2 separate regions of the Homo sapiens genome follow, and region 2 is linked to region 1. The links are contacts of gene promoters, found by promoter capture Hi-C in blood cells and fetal thymus (Javierre and others, 2016). All regions are on one chromosome and are shown on one strand. The core of a region is centred on a gene start or on the middle of the fragment in contact, and the rest is flanking DNA. Distances in the headings are between cores, read along the strand shown.

What was found. The method cuts DNA at HindIII sites, captures the fragments that hold promoters and counts their contacts. A CHiCAGO score of 5 or more calls a contact.
Region 2: a contact is called between the fragment with the promoter of FNDC3B here and the fragment with the promoter of ACTRT3 in region 1, in 1 of 17 cell types (non-activated CD4 T cells). The highest score is 7.5, in non-activated CD4 T cells.

Annotation. Positions count from the first base shown.
Region 1 is chr3:169,766,149-169,772,459 of GRCh38, reverse strand. ACTRT3 (actin related protein T3) reads left to right here and starts at 2,899. Exons shown (of 2, transcript NM_032487.5): 1 at 2,899-3,139; 2 at 4,110-5,539. The coding sequence starts at 2,940. The coding sequence ends at 5,028. It overlaps TRV-AAC1-1 (tRNA-Val (anticodon AAC) 1-1), which reads right to left and starts at 230; the gene lies at 158-230. RefSeq lists enhancers at 415-514, 2,675-2,819, 2,911-3,170, 4,032-4,176, cis regulatory regions at 2,747, 4,104 and a silencer at 2,761-2,830. The HindIII fragment of the contact is 4,942 bases long and covers 402-5,343 here.
Region 2 is chr3:172,036,152-172,042,462 of GRCh38, reverse strand. FNDC3B (fibronectin type III domain containing 3B) reads right to left here and starts at 2,885. Exons shown (of 26, transcript NM_022763.4): 1 at 2,692-2,885. RefSeq lists silencers at 1,533-1,902, 1,963-2,212, 2,393-2,492, 2,633-2,812 and enhancers at 1,731-2,397, 2,398-3,065, 6,129-6,188. The HindIII fragment of the contact is 7,479 bases long and covers 1-4,982 here.

The DNA of each region.
Region 1 (6,311 bases), core at 1,650-4,149:
AATTGCTATCATGTCTTTTGAAGGACCGGCATACATTAAGCTAAGGCTTCCCTCAGAAAAAAAAACAAAACAAACAACAAAAGAAAACAAAGCGTGATCTCACGCTTTCTTCCAAGCGAAGGAAAAAAAAAAAAAAAAAAAAAGGGATTTTTTAGTGTGTTTCCGCCCGGTTTCGAACCGGGGACCTTTCGCGTGTTAGGCGAACGTGATAACCACTACACTACGGAAACCCCACTTTGGAGAGGGTTTTGTAAAGTCCTTGATATGTAAGTGTCAATTCGCAATTCTCAAGTGATTATTATCAAATTGAGAGGAATGAATATAATGTATTTAAAGAAAAAAACAGAAAAGGAAAAATAGCCTATGCCCAATTGAACAGAGCTGAAACCATTTCAAAAGCTTGAATCTGCACGCACTTTCTTCCAAAGTGCCCGGGTACCGCAGTAGAAACCAGGCACTCCCGAGTTGCCCTTCCTTTGGGTGGCCTTTTTTTTTTTTGTCTCCCTGGAAAGGCGTTTTATTACACATCCTTTCCGCAGGTTGAGCTGCTCAGAGTCCGGGGCGAAGCAGGGGGCTTTCGTTATTCAGCCGCGAAAAAGCCATCCTTTCAGCTTCTGGTGGAAGGACGTGTAAAATTACTTTTGAATTTCCTCTTTTTGCTTCCGAAGACCAAGCAGAAGTTCTAAATTGACTGCTTGTTTTCAAATTCTCTACAGATGTATGCAGAATCAGACACCAAGATGCGTTTATTGACATGCAATGTACTTTCAAATTTTTCCAAACTTGAATTTCATATGACCTGATAAACTTCACTTTTCCTGCAAAAAGACAGGCACGTCCTTCAGCCTAAAAATCAAGAGTAGCGAATGAGGCTTGCAGATTACACCAGAAGGATAGAAATCGAAATATATATATTTATATTTATTATATATAAATATAAATTTTTATATATTTATTATATATAAACATAAATTTTTATATATTTATTATATATAAACATAAATTTTTATATATTTATTATATATAAACAAATTTTTATATATTTATTATATATAAACATAAATTTTTATATATTTATTATATATAAACATAAATTTTTATATTTATTATATATAAACAAATTTTTATATTTATTATATATAAACATAATTTTTTATATATTTATTATATATAAACATAATTTTTTATATATTTATGATATATAAATATAATTTTTTATATATTTATGATATATAAATATAATTTTTTATATATTTATGATATATAAATATAATTTTTTATATATTTATGATATATAAATATAATTTTTTATATATTTATGATATATAAATATAAATTTTTATATATTTATGATATATAAATATAAATTTTTATATATTTATGATATATAAATATAAATTTTTATATATTTATGATATATAAATATAAATTTTTATATATTTATGATATATAAATATAAATTTTTATATATTTATGATATATAAATATAAATTTTTATATATTTATGATATATAAATATAAATTTTTATTTATGATATCTAAATATAAATTTTTATTTATGATATCTAAATATAAATTTTTATTTATGATATCTAAATATAAATTTTTATTTATGATATCTAAATATAAATTTTTATTTATGATATCTAAATATAAATTTTTATATATGATATCTAAATATAAATTTTTATATATGATATCTAAATATAAATTTTTATATATGATATCTAAATATAAATTTTTATATATGATATCTAAATATAAATTTTTATATATGATATCTAAATATAAATTTTTATATATGATATATAAATATAAATTTTTATATATGATATATAAATATAAATTTTTATATATTTATGATATATAAATATAAATTTTTATATATTTATGATATATAAATATAAATTTTTATATATTTATATTTATGATATATAAATATAAATTTTTATATATTTATATTTATGATATATAAATATAAATTTTTATATATTTATATTTATGATATATAAATATAAATTTTTATATATTTATATTTATACATATAATAAATATAAATATAAATTTTTATATATTTATATTTATACATATAATAAATATAAATATATATATTTCGATTTATATCCTTGCTTAAATATATAAATATATATTTTATAAATATATAAATATATTTATATAATATAACATATATTTATATAAATTATATAAATTTATATATTTTTTAATATTTTATATTTAAATTTATATATATTTATATAAATATATATAAATTTATATTTATTTACATATTTAAGCTAGGAACTACTATTTTGTTTTAATTGCGTACATTTTGCTTGGAAATCACAGGAAGAAACACAACAAAGCATTGCCCAAGGTACAGAAACAATAATAAACGTACTTAAAACTCATTTAAATTCCAGCATTTTTCTCCTTATTTTAGAAGTTTAACATTTCAGAAGCAGACACTGCCTCCCTTCCTGCAACAACTTTCTCCTCTTAAGTCTCATTTTTCCCCAGTTTCAAGGGCGAATTCTAGAACTCCCCGGAACCGCCACCAGTTAACCAGAATTCCGTGGCTTTGGAAAATAAAACTGCTGTTATAGCTCTTCTGGGTATTTGAGAAATGCACTTGTGAAGGGTTAGAGTTGAATCTTTTGATGCGAAAGTCGGGTTTTCCTGATACTGGGATTCCGGGATTCCAGGTGTTGGGGTGGCCCAATTCCTGCGAGAAGCAATAGCGGGCGGTAACATGAGGAGCACGGTGCGTCCAGCGAGTCCTTCCGCCTGGGGCCCTGCCGACCCCCTGCCTGCGCCCCCAGGACTCTGGCCTCACCCGGCCGTGCCGGGGCCTCTGTGACGCGGCGTTCCAGGCACTCGGCCCCGGCCGAGCCCGTAGCTAGAGCGGCTCAGAGACAGGAGGCGGCGGCAGCAGCGGCGGCATGAACCACTGCCAGCTACCGGTGGTGATCGACAACGGCTCGGGAATGATCAAGGCGGGCGTGGCTGGGTGCCGGGAGCCCCAGTTTATCTACCCGAACATTATCGGCCGCGCCAAGGGCCAGAGCCGCGCGGCCCAGGGCGGGCTAGAACTCTGCGTGGGCGACCAAGCTCAGGACTGGAGGAGCTCGCTGTTCATCAGGTACCTCCTTCTCCCAGCAGGCTGCTGGGGCTGGGGAGGGTGGGTGGGGTGGGGGTGGGGTAGGGTGGGGCTGGGGAGGTTGGGGGGTGGGGCTGGGGTGGCTGGGGGTGGGGGGACTGGGGGTGTTGTCGGGGGGCAGGAAAGGACCCCAAAGGAGGTGCGCAATGGGGACAGAAAGAATAAGAAAGCCGGGAGCTGGAAAGCCCCATCCAGCTGGAATTACTACAAACGCACGGGCCACAAATCTCCAAGGGTACCACACATCTAAAAACTGAACATTTTGCTCTCTGTGGCTATACAAATGTATTAAAACGTATAAAGTTATCGAACGAATTCATTTAAGAATATTAACTCATGGTCCCTTTTGTCACTTGGGTTATTCTCTTCAATTGACATTTAAACTATACTATAATGTGGACATTTCCCAATTTTTTAAAAGTCACAAGGTTCCAAAGGACAGAGAAAATGGAAAGCAACAAAAATCGCAGAGGTAGGCCGGGCGCGGTGGCTCACGCCTGTAATCCTAGCACTTTGGGAGGCCGAGCAGGGCGGATCACGAGGTCAGGAGTTCGAGACCATCGTGGCTAACACGGTGAAACCCCGTCTCTACTAAAAATACAAAAAAATTAGCCGGGCGTGGTGGCGCGCGCCTGTAGTCCCAGCTACTCAGGAGACTGAGGCAGGAGAATGGCGTGAACCCGGGAGGCGGAGCTTGCAGTGAGCTGAGATCGCGCCACTGCACTCCAGCCTGGGTGACAGAGCGAGACTCTGTCTCCAAAAAAAAAAAAAAAAATTGCAGAGGTAAGTAGCTGTGCTATTTTTGGCTGACACTTACCTGCTGTGAGAGGCTGTGGCAGTTATTGCCCATAAAGGGATATTGGTAATAAACGCGGGGAATTAACTGAGGGTCGAAGACAATAGAAACTAGAAAAATAAAAAGCTGTCATTGATCTTATTGCTTTCCTTACAGTTACCCAGTGGAGCGTGGTCTCATTACTTCATGGGAGGACATGGAGATCATGTGGAAGCATATCTATGACTATAACCTAAAGCTGAAGCCGTGTGATGGCCCAGTCTTGATTACTGAGCCAGCGCTGAACCCACTGGCCAACCGGCAACAGATCACGGAAATGTTTTTTGAGCATCTGGGTGTTCCTGCCTTCTATATGTCCATCCAGGCTGTGCTGGCTCTCTTTGCTGCTGGCTTCACTACTGGCCTTGTGCTGAATTCAGGTGCTGGGGTTACCCAGAGTGTGCCCATCTTTGAGGGTTACTGTCTGCCTCATGGTGTGCAGCAACTGGATCTGGCAGGCCTTGACCTCACCAACTACCTCATGGTGCTAATGAAGAACCATGGTATCATGTTGCTCAGTGCTTCAGACAGAAAGATTGTTGAAGACATCAAGGAGAGCTTTTGTTATGTGGCAATGAACTACGAAGAGGAAATGGCCAAGAAACCCGATTGTCTAGAGAAAGTTTACCAACTACCTGATGGGAAGGTCATCCAGCTCCATGACCAGCTCTTTTCTTGTCCAGAGGCCCTCTTCTCTCCGTGTCATATGAACCTTGAGGCCCCTGGCATTGATAAGATATGCTTCAGCAGCATAATGAAATGTGATACAGGCCTGAGGAATTCCTTCTTTTCCAATATTATCCTTGCCGGGGGATCAACCTCTTTCCCTGGTTTAGACAAGCGGTTAGTTAAGGATATAGCAAAGGTGGCTCCTGCCAACACCGCTGTGCAAGTTATAGCTCCTCCAGAAAGGAAAATATCAGTGTGGATGGGAGGTTCTATTCTTGCATCCTTGTCTGCCTTCCAGGACATGTGGATCACTGCTGCAGAATTTAAAGAAGTTGGACCCAACATAGTACACCAAAGATGCTTCTGAAATACAGATAAAATGGTTGGAAGAAAATGTTTTGAGTATATGTGACAGAAAACTTTGGATATTATATGTTTCTGGGAGAAGAGAAAATACTTCACCTATTGGGATGCCAATATTTCTGTTGTATTTCTATAATGGGTTTGGGGGATAATAATGGTGAAGCTCAAGAACAGATGTCTATTGAGTAGAACCAAGTTAAAATAATGTTTCCCATAGTGTTTCTTCTATAACTTGACGTTGGTGAGCTTATATTTCCCTTGGAAGAGAGCATTTGTGGTACAATATGCTATGTGCCAAATGAGTGATAAGATTTAAGCTTATTGAAGTTTAGGGAAAGAAGGTTGCTGTGGTGAGGAACGAGACTCCATAGCAGAGGTATGCCATCATGGAAGGGGTGGCATTGGGATGGAGCGCAGATATCCAGGCAAGCATACTAAAATGAACAAGTTGCTAAAGATGAGAATGAACAAAGCATATTCAGGGCATGTTTAATAGACTGATTTTGTTTTTAAAATTTTTGTTTATGTATGTATTTATTCATTTATTTAGTTTTAGAGGCAGAGTCTTGCCCTGTGTCCCAGGCTGGAGTGCAGTAGTGCAATCATAGCTCACTGCAGCCTCCAACTCCTGGGCTCTGCCCTCAGCCTCCCAAGTAACTGAATCCACAGGTATGCACCACCACGCCTAAGTTTAGACTGATTTTGTTCAAGTCAAGAGCTCATATAGAGCAGAACAAGCGCTATGACTAGCAAGGTTAAGTGAAGGCCAGGGACTGAAAGGCTTAAAGTGCTAAATATCCAATATGCAAAGGAGAGAAATTAAAGATTTAAAAGCAGGAGCCATAAGGAAACTATGTTATGATGAATGTGATAGTTTGGAGAATAAATTGAATGAGGAAGGCCCTGGAGATTTGGTGATCAGTTAGAAAGTTACTAGTCCACATATAAAGTGCCAAGTCTTGTACTCAAGATTATAAGCAATAGGAATTTAAAAAAAGAAATTATGAAAACTGACAAGATTTAGTGCCTACTTAGATATGAAGGGGAAAGAAGGGTTTGAGATAATGTGGGATGCTAAGAGAATGGTGGTAGTGTTGACATATAACTCAAAGCATTTAGCATCTACTCTATGTAAGGTACTGTGCTAAGTGCAATAGTGCTAAAAACAGGAGTCAGATTCTGTCCGTAAAAAACTTTACAACCTGGCAGATGCTATGAAAGAAAAAGGGGATGGGAGAGAGAGAAGGAGGGAGAGAGATGGAGAGGGAGATATTTTACTTTTCTTTC
Region 2 (6,311 bases), core at 1,636-4,135, 2.3 Mb before region 1:
CCGGGCCTCATTTTCCAAACTGACAAGTGTGGTAAGTTCTTCTACTTAGCTCCTAATGAACTTATCCATCAAATGCTACCAGGTTAAATACTGAGCAAAAGGAGCACAAACTCCTACTGAGTGAACTGCTACCTAGCCTCCAAGGGCCTAGAGCTTCCTCACAGATCCCAAGCATTCTTCAAGAAACCGCAGAAGACTGGCTCTCCAATATAACCCATCGTCTGATGTGAGCTATTTATAAAGTCTGTATTAAAAGATTACCGGAATATCTTTCTGAAATTGTATATACTGTAATTAGAAGCTACAACCTCCTATTTCATGATGAGATCCTGCAGTTTTAGCATCTTTTAAATGAACGCTATCCTTACAGATGAATTTTTTTTATCTTAAAGTAATTTAAACCACAACACTTTAAAAGCACGTGTGAGTTTAAAAACAATTTTGTAATGACTGATTTTTTTTTTAATCAACTATGCCTCATTCTCAGCCAGCCTGTGGGTGCCCCTCTGGTATCTAAACAAAGTGAGAATTGTACCTTCATGGGTGAGGTCCTTTTGCAGGGCCAGAAACATGCCCAGAGACTTTATCCTCGTTAACAGCTGCTCCCAGGGAGCCAGGAAATTTACTGATCCAGTAAATTTCAGAGTCAGCCTCCAATGAGGGGGAACCAAGGGCCCCCACAAAAGGCACAAAACCAGCGCTCCCGGCTGCTATCCACTGTGGGGCGTTGCCCGGGCACCCAGGTTCATAGCTTTAACTTAGGGGTGGAGGAGCAACTCCGGCAGCAGAAATCATTACAGAGCGAAGCAATTTTGCCCAAGGCCTGAGGCCTCAAAAAAAAAGTGTTATTCCAGAGCAGATTCCTTTTCTTCCGGGTCTGTCTGCTCCTTCTGACTCTTTGCCCACAACCACCGTGCCTCCCCATTCCCAACGCCCCACCTCCTGCCACATTTATTTAAAAAAAAAAAAAAGAAGAAGAACAAGAACAAGAAGGAGGAGGAGGAGAAGAGAAGGAAGGAAGGAAGGAAGGAAGGAAGGAAGGAAGGAAGGAGAGAGAAGGAGAAAGAAAGAAAGAAAAAGAAAGAAAGAAAGAAAGAAAGAAAACGATTTTTAAAAAGCATATTCCCTCTCCCTTAGCTTTCCCTAGGAAGGCCTGGAAACTGAAGGAAATTCAAATCAAATTAGTTGCACATTAAAAAATAAACAGACAAGCAATCAGGGGGTGCCCACCCAACAAAAGACCTCACCCGTTCCAAAATATGATTAAGCCTGGGAGGGAAGAGGGGGAGGGGGGACTAGAAACCAGCAGGGATGGAGAGAGAAACCTGTGGATTTTTGGCCCCAGCGTTGGCCCATTGCGGCCAAATTCTAAATTTTGTTTAAATAAAATGCTGGGTTGAGGAGAAAAGAAAACAAAAAGTTATAACTTTTAAGGAAGTCTGCAAACGGCACTGTCTGGATAAAATGCCATTGCTTCCCTTCGTCTGGGATGGCAGGGTGGGAGCTGAGATTCCAAAAGCTCCAACTCCGACCGCGCACTCCTGGAAGCCTCCCCGCCAAAGGCGCCGCCGGGCGGCGCAGCCCAGTCTCCCGAGACGGCGGGCCCGGGTCCTCCGGTTCCCACGGGACGCCGGGACCCGGACCTCTGGGAAAGTTCGCGGGCACAGCCCGAGGCCCCACTTTCTGCCGAGAGTGACAGGCCCTTCCCACGCCTGCCGGCCCCAGCCCAGCCGCGGGCACCAGACGGTCCGCGCGGCCCCTCCTGGCCGCCTCGGGGCGCAGATTCCGCCCGCCCGCCCTATCCCCGGCCGAGGCGCCCCTCGGGGTGACCGACTGACCGGAGCTCCGCTGGCCCACACACCGGGTCGCCCGCTCCTTCCCGCCGCGCCCCGCTCCCCCGCCCGAGCTTCCAGCCGCCGGCTCGCCAAGTCCGGCCGCGGCCGCCGGTTACCGCCCCCAGCCCGGGGGGAGCCCGGGGGGCAGGACGGGGAGGAGGACGTGGCGTGCTCGGAGGTGGCCAGCAGCGGGGCGGGGAGTGTCCCGGAGAGGCCCAGCCGGGGACGGGGGGGCCAGGCCGGCGCGGGCTCGGGACCCTCCCCGCGAGCATCCCCGGGTTCGAGGCCCCCGACCGCCCCCGCCGGCGCGGAGAGGCGGCCCCAACTTCCAGCCCCACTTCGCACTCCCGCCCTCTTCCCTCCACCATATGGAAATCTACAGCCTCAGAAAGTGACACGTCGAAGATTCCTCGGCCTCGCCGCCCGCCCTCCCCCTCCTGGGCAGCGTTCCTGCCGCGGAGATTCCGGGAGGGGGAGCGGATTCCTCGGACAAAATCTGCTGGGAAGGCTGGGGGTGGGGGGAGGCCGCGAGCCACTGCCCAATTTTTTTTAAGAGGAATCTACCCGTTTCTTTCACTCCTCCAAACCCTGAGGCAGGGGGCACAGGCGGGGGACCCCAGCCCAGCAAGGCGGGGGCCGCCCCCTCCCGGGTCCCGTGTTCCCGGGGTGCCCAGGCGAGCACGGGGCGCCCCAGCACTCCGGCGCCAAGTTTTTGCCGGGAAGCCCAGGGCGCTCCCGGGACAGGGACGCACTTTGGCGGACTCGGCGTCAGGCCGGGGCTTTCCAGTGCACCGGGACCCGGCGATCGCGCTCGGGGTCCCGGTCTCCTCTAGTCCCCGGCTCTTGCACGCCTTACCTTCCCTAGGGCTGAAACGCGGGGCTCTGGGCGCGCCACACACCGGGTCGCCCACGCCTTCCCAGCCGGCAGCCTGGAGGATCCCTGCCGCCCCCTTCGCTGCTCCCGCCGCCGCCGCTCTCCTCCTCCAGCCGCCGCCGCCGCCGCTCAAATAACTACCAGGAGGGTTTGATGGGGGATTCCGCCATGTCAATGATGTCGGGACCACATGGGGATTTGGGGCCCGCCCATTACCGTAAACCGCCGAATATACCGGCCGCCACAATCGCAGACTCGCAGAAGCTGTTGTCCCCCGGCCCTGCCTAGCTAAGCAGAAACTCCTTTTGGTTCAGCCAGACTAAAGAAACCTGAGGCTTAGGGAACTAACAACTCCTGAATGGCGAGGGCTGCGCGTTCTGCAGATCGCCAAAGTAATATAAAGGCAATGTTTACTCAGTGATAATTAAGCCTAAAACTGACTTTTTTTCATTTACACATATATTTCGCTTTTTGTTGTTGTTAACCCCCACAGCAACCTTGTGAGCTATATTACTCCCACATTTCCCACAGCATTTTATTCATACAACTAACATAGTATGAGCAATTTTTATTATACTTAAGTTAAAATCTCTCTTTCCTCTTTCTTTTTGTTTTTTGTTTTTTGTTGTTGTTGTTGTTTGTTTTGGGGACTGCAGGCACGGGGCAGGCATGAGCCACCGCACCCTTTTTTTTTTTTTTTTTTTTTCCTTTTTTGGAAGAGAGGGGGTCTCAATAGGTTGCCCAGGCTGGTCTGGAACTCTGTCGCTCAAGTGATTCTCCCGCCTTGGCCTCCCAAAGTGTTGAGATTACAGGCGTGAGCCAACTCACCCAGCCTTATTTCACAATGCGTTTCTCAGGGACAAAGACTGTTTCTTACTTTTATCTTTATATCCGTAAAATATAGCACAGTGCAAGGACCACAATAGGACTCATTAAATAACTGTTGAGTTCATATTAAGTCAAATGTAATGTATTTCTGTTGTACAGGCTCTAAGAGGTTAACAGACTGCATCCCATGCCACCCCTCAGATTATTCAGGAGACAAGAGAGCAAAAGTTAGCCTAGAGAAGCCCCTTCCATCCATAGCTGTCCAGGTATTCTGAATAGCTACATTCAGCCTCAACTATTAAGCTACAAAGGAGCATTCAGGGAGTCACTAGAGACAATGTATTACTTTTGTTAACCTAAAAAATAATAATAGCAGTACATAATACTCTGTTAAAGTCTAAAGAACACTAAGAAATAGCTCCTTCCTTCCCTTGTTCATTTGCCATTCTTTTGGGGAGATTTTAGCCTTTTTTTTTTTTTTTTGGAGGCAATGGTGAGTCCAGAGAAATGGGGACCTCTCTCCTAAATGGCTTATTTACTGTGGAGCTCCTCAAAGGGGAACTTGAAGCCATCTTTCTATAACATAACTCCAATTCTAGGTCATAGTCCTGCATGAGAAGCCGGGGCGGGGGGTAGGCAGTAGTTCCTTAGTGCCAATAGGGTACAATCCAATAGATCCCATTTGAGTCCAAATGCCTTCTCTGGCTCCAGACTCTTTGGCTTCCTCAGGTGCCATGCCTTCAGCCCAGCTGATCACTCATGGCTCCAGAAGGTACCTGTGTCCCTTTGTACGTGCCTTCCCTCTGAAACATACTTCTTCTTCCCTATTTAAGATCATTTACTCATCCTTGATCTCCGGCTAAAACCACTCCCTCCTTTCCTCCCTACAGTCTCATACCTCTTTTCCCCACAATCTTATAATCCTTGTCAGTTCTCACATTGCTCTGAAGTTAGTCTTTTTTTTTTTTTTTTTTTTCTGAGGCTAGAGTGCAGTAGCATGATCGTAGCTCACTGCGTCTTCAAGCTCCTAGGCTCAAGCGAGTCTCCCACCTCAGCCTCCCAAGTAGCTGGGACTACTAGTGTGTGCCATCACGCCTGGCTAATTTTTTTTTAATGTTTCTTTTTTTTTTTTCATTTTTGTTGCCCAGGCTGGTCTCAGACTCCTGAGCTCAAGCAATCCTCCTGCCCCAGCTCCCAAAGTGCTGGGGTTATAGGCATGAGCCACTGTGCCCAGCCTGAAGTTAGTTATACTTTATCTCTTCCACTTGACTGAGTTTTGTTCATGTTTGTATCCCTAGTATCAACCTAGAATTCTGCTTTGAATATAAGACCCCTTTGTGTTTGGTGAATGAATTAATTGTAAAGTATGTGGAAGAATCTGAATGACTAGGTAAGTGAGCAAACTTCAGAATGTGAAAGGTCAAATTCAGGTTGAAGGACAAGCTTGGCAAAGGAGGTAAAAGTAGGCAAGGGAAGTTTGGAGGACAAAGTTATTTATTCCTGTTTCTTCCACTAGACTGAATTTTTTCTTATTAAGAAGAAAAAGTTTCAATTTTCATATAATGCTTTATAATTTCACATGCATGTTCATATATATGATCTCAGTGTTTCATTCATCTTCTTTGCCCTAACACCTAACACCAGTTTTGGCACAGAAAAAAAGCCCATTAAATGTTTGCAAAATGAGAGGAAGTATGGTACACTGGAGAGAGCATAGAACATAATGAGAGAAAAGGAGTGATGTTGGGCATAAAGTTCTCTGAACCTGAATTTTCTTATTTGTTAAATTGTGATCTTTAATAAACCTTCTGGTCAAGGTTGTTGTGAGGATTAAAAAACTCAAGCACCTGGTACTCAGTAAATAAATATTGGTTACTCCTTGAATGAATGAATGAATGAATGAATGAGTAAATGAATTAATAAAGATATATTTCTTAAAAGGATTAATAGGACAGAATTGGAAGCTTCAGAGAAAAAGGTGGAATTTGTGATAGAGGGCTCTCACCTATACTTTGAGGGATTTAGATTTAATACAGTGAGAACACTGTGGGATTATTGAGGCATGAAGTAATTAAAATAGGTTTCAAGGTTATCTTAGCAGCAGGATATAGAACAAGGCTCATGTCAGAGATGCATGCCCTGAACCTACTTTGGAAATGATAAGACTTACACCAGAGTCATGGTTCTGGGAATAGGAAGAAGGACCTCAACCTAAGGCAATGAGTATGACTATCTGGTGTTGACAACCTGCATAATCTGCTGCTCTAGGTCCCAAATTATGAAACTATAGTCCTGGCTAAAACTTTGCTCCAAAAGCACCTTAAGATTTGCTCAAATACAAAAGTTAACATCCAAATGAAGATGCCTAGAAGTTAAGGCCTATAACAAAATATAGAGACTCTTAAACCCTTCTACCACCTATGCAATGTAGGCTGAGTCCAAATTTTAAAAAGATTCTTAGTCATACTTCTTCATCTCAAATAATTTATATCAAAAAATGCAACAGTAGTACACAGGAAAGAATGAAAGTATTGAAGCTAGCATTGAAAAGGTCTCAAACAATTCAACTTTTCTGAACACTTCTGTAGTCTAAAATGTTTAAATTTGAAACTCTCTCTCAAAGATCACTATGACTAGTAACACGTAATATCTACAAGACCCAGCTGCATTCTCAGTTTCAATGTCCTTCTTCTCCCTATAGCTCGAGTTGCTAGGTTCCCAAGGCAGGCTCAGTTCTGCCCCTACTCTTAAAAACTGCTCTTGACCACCAGGCA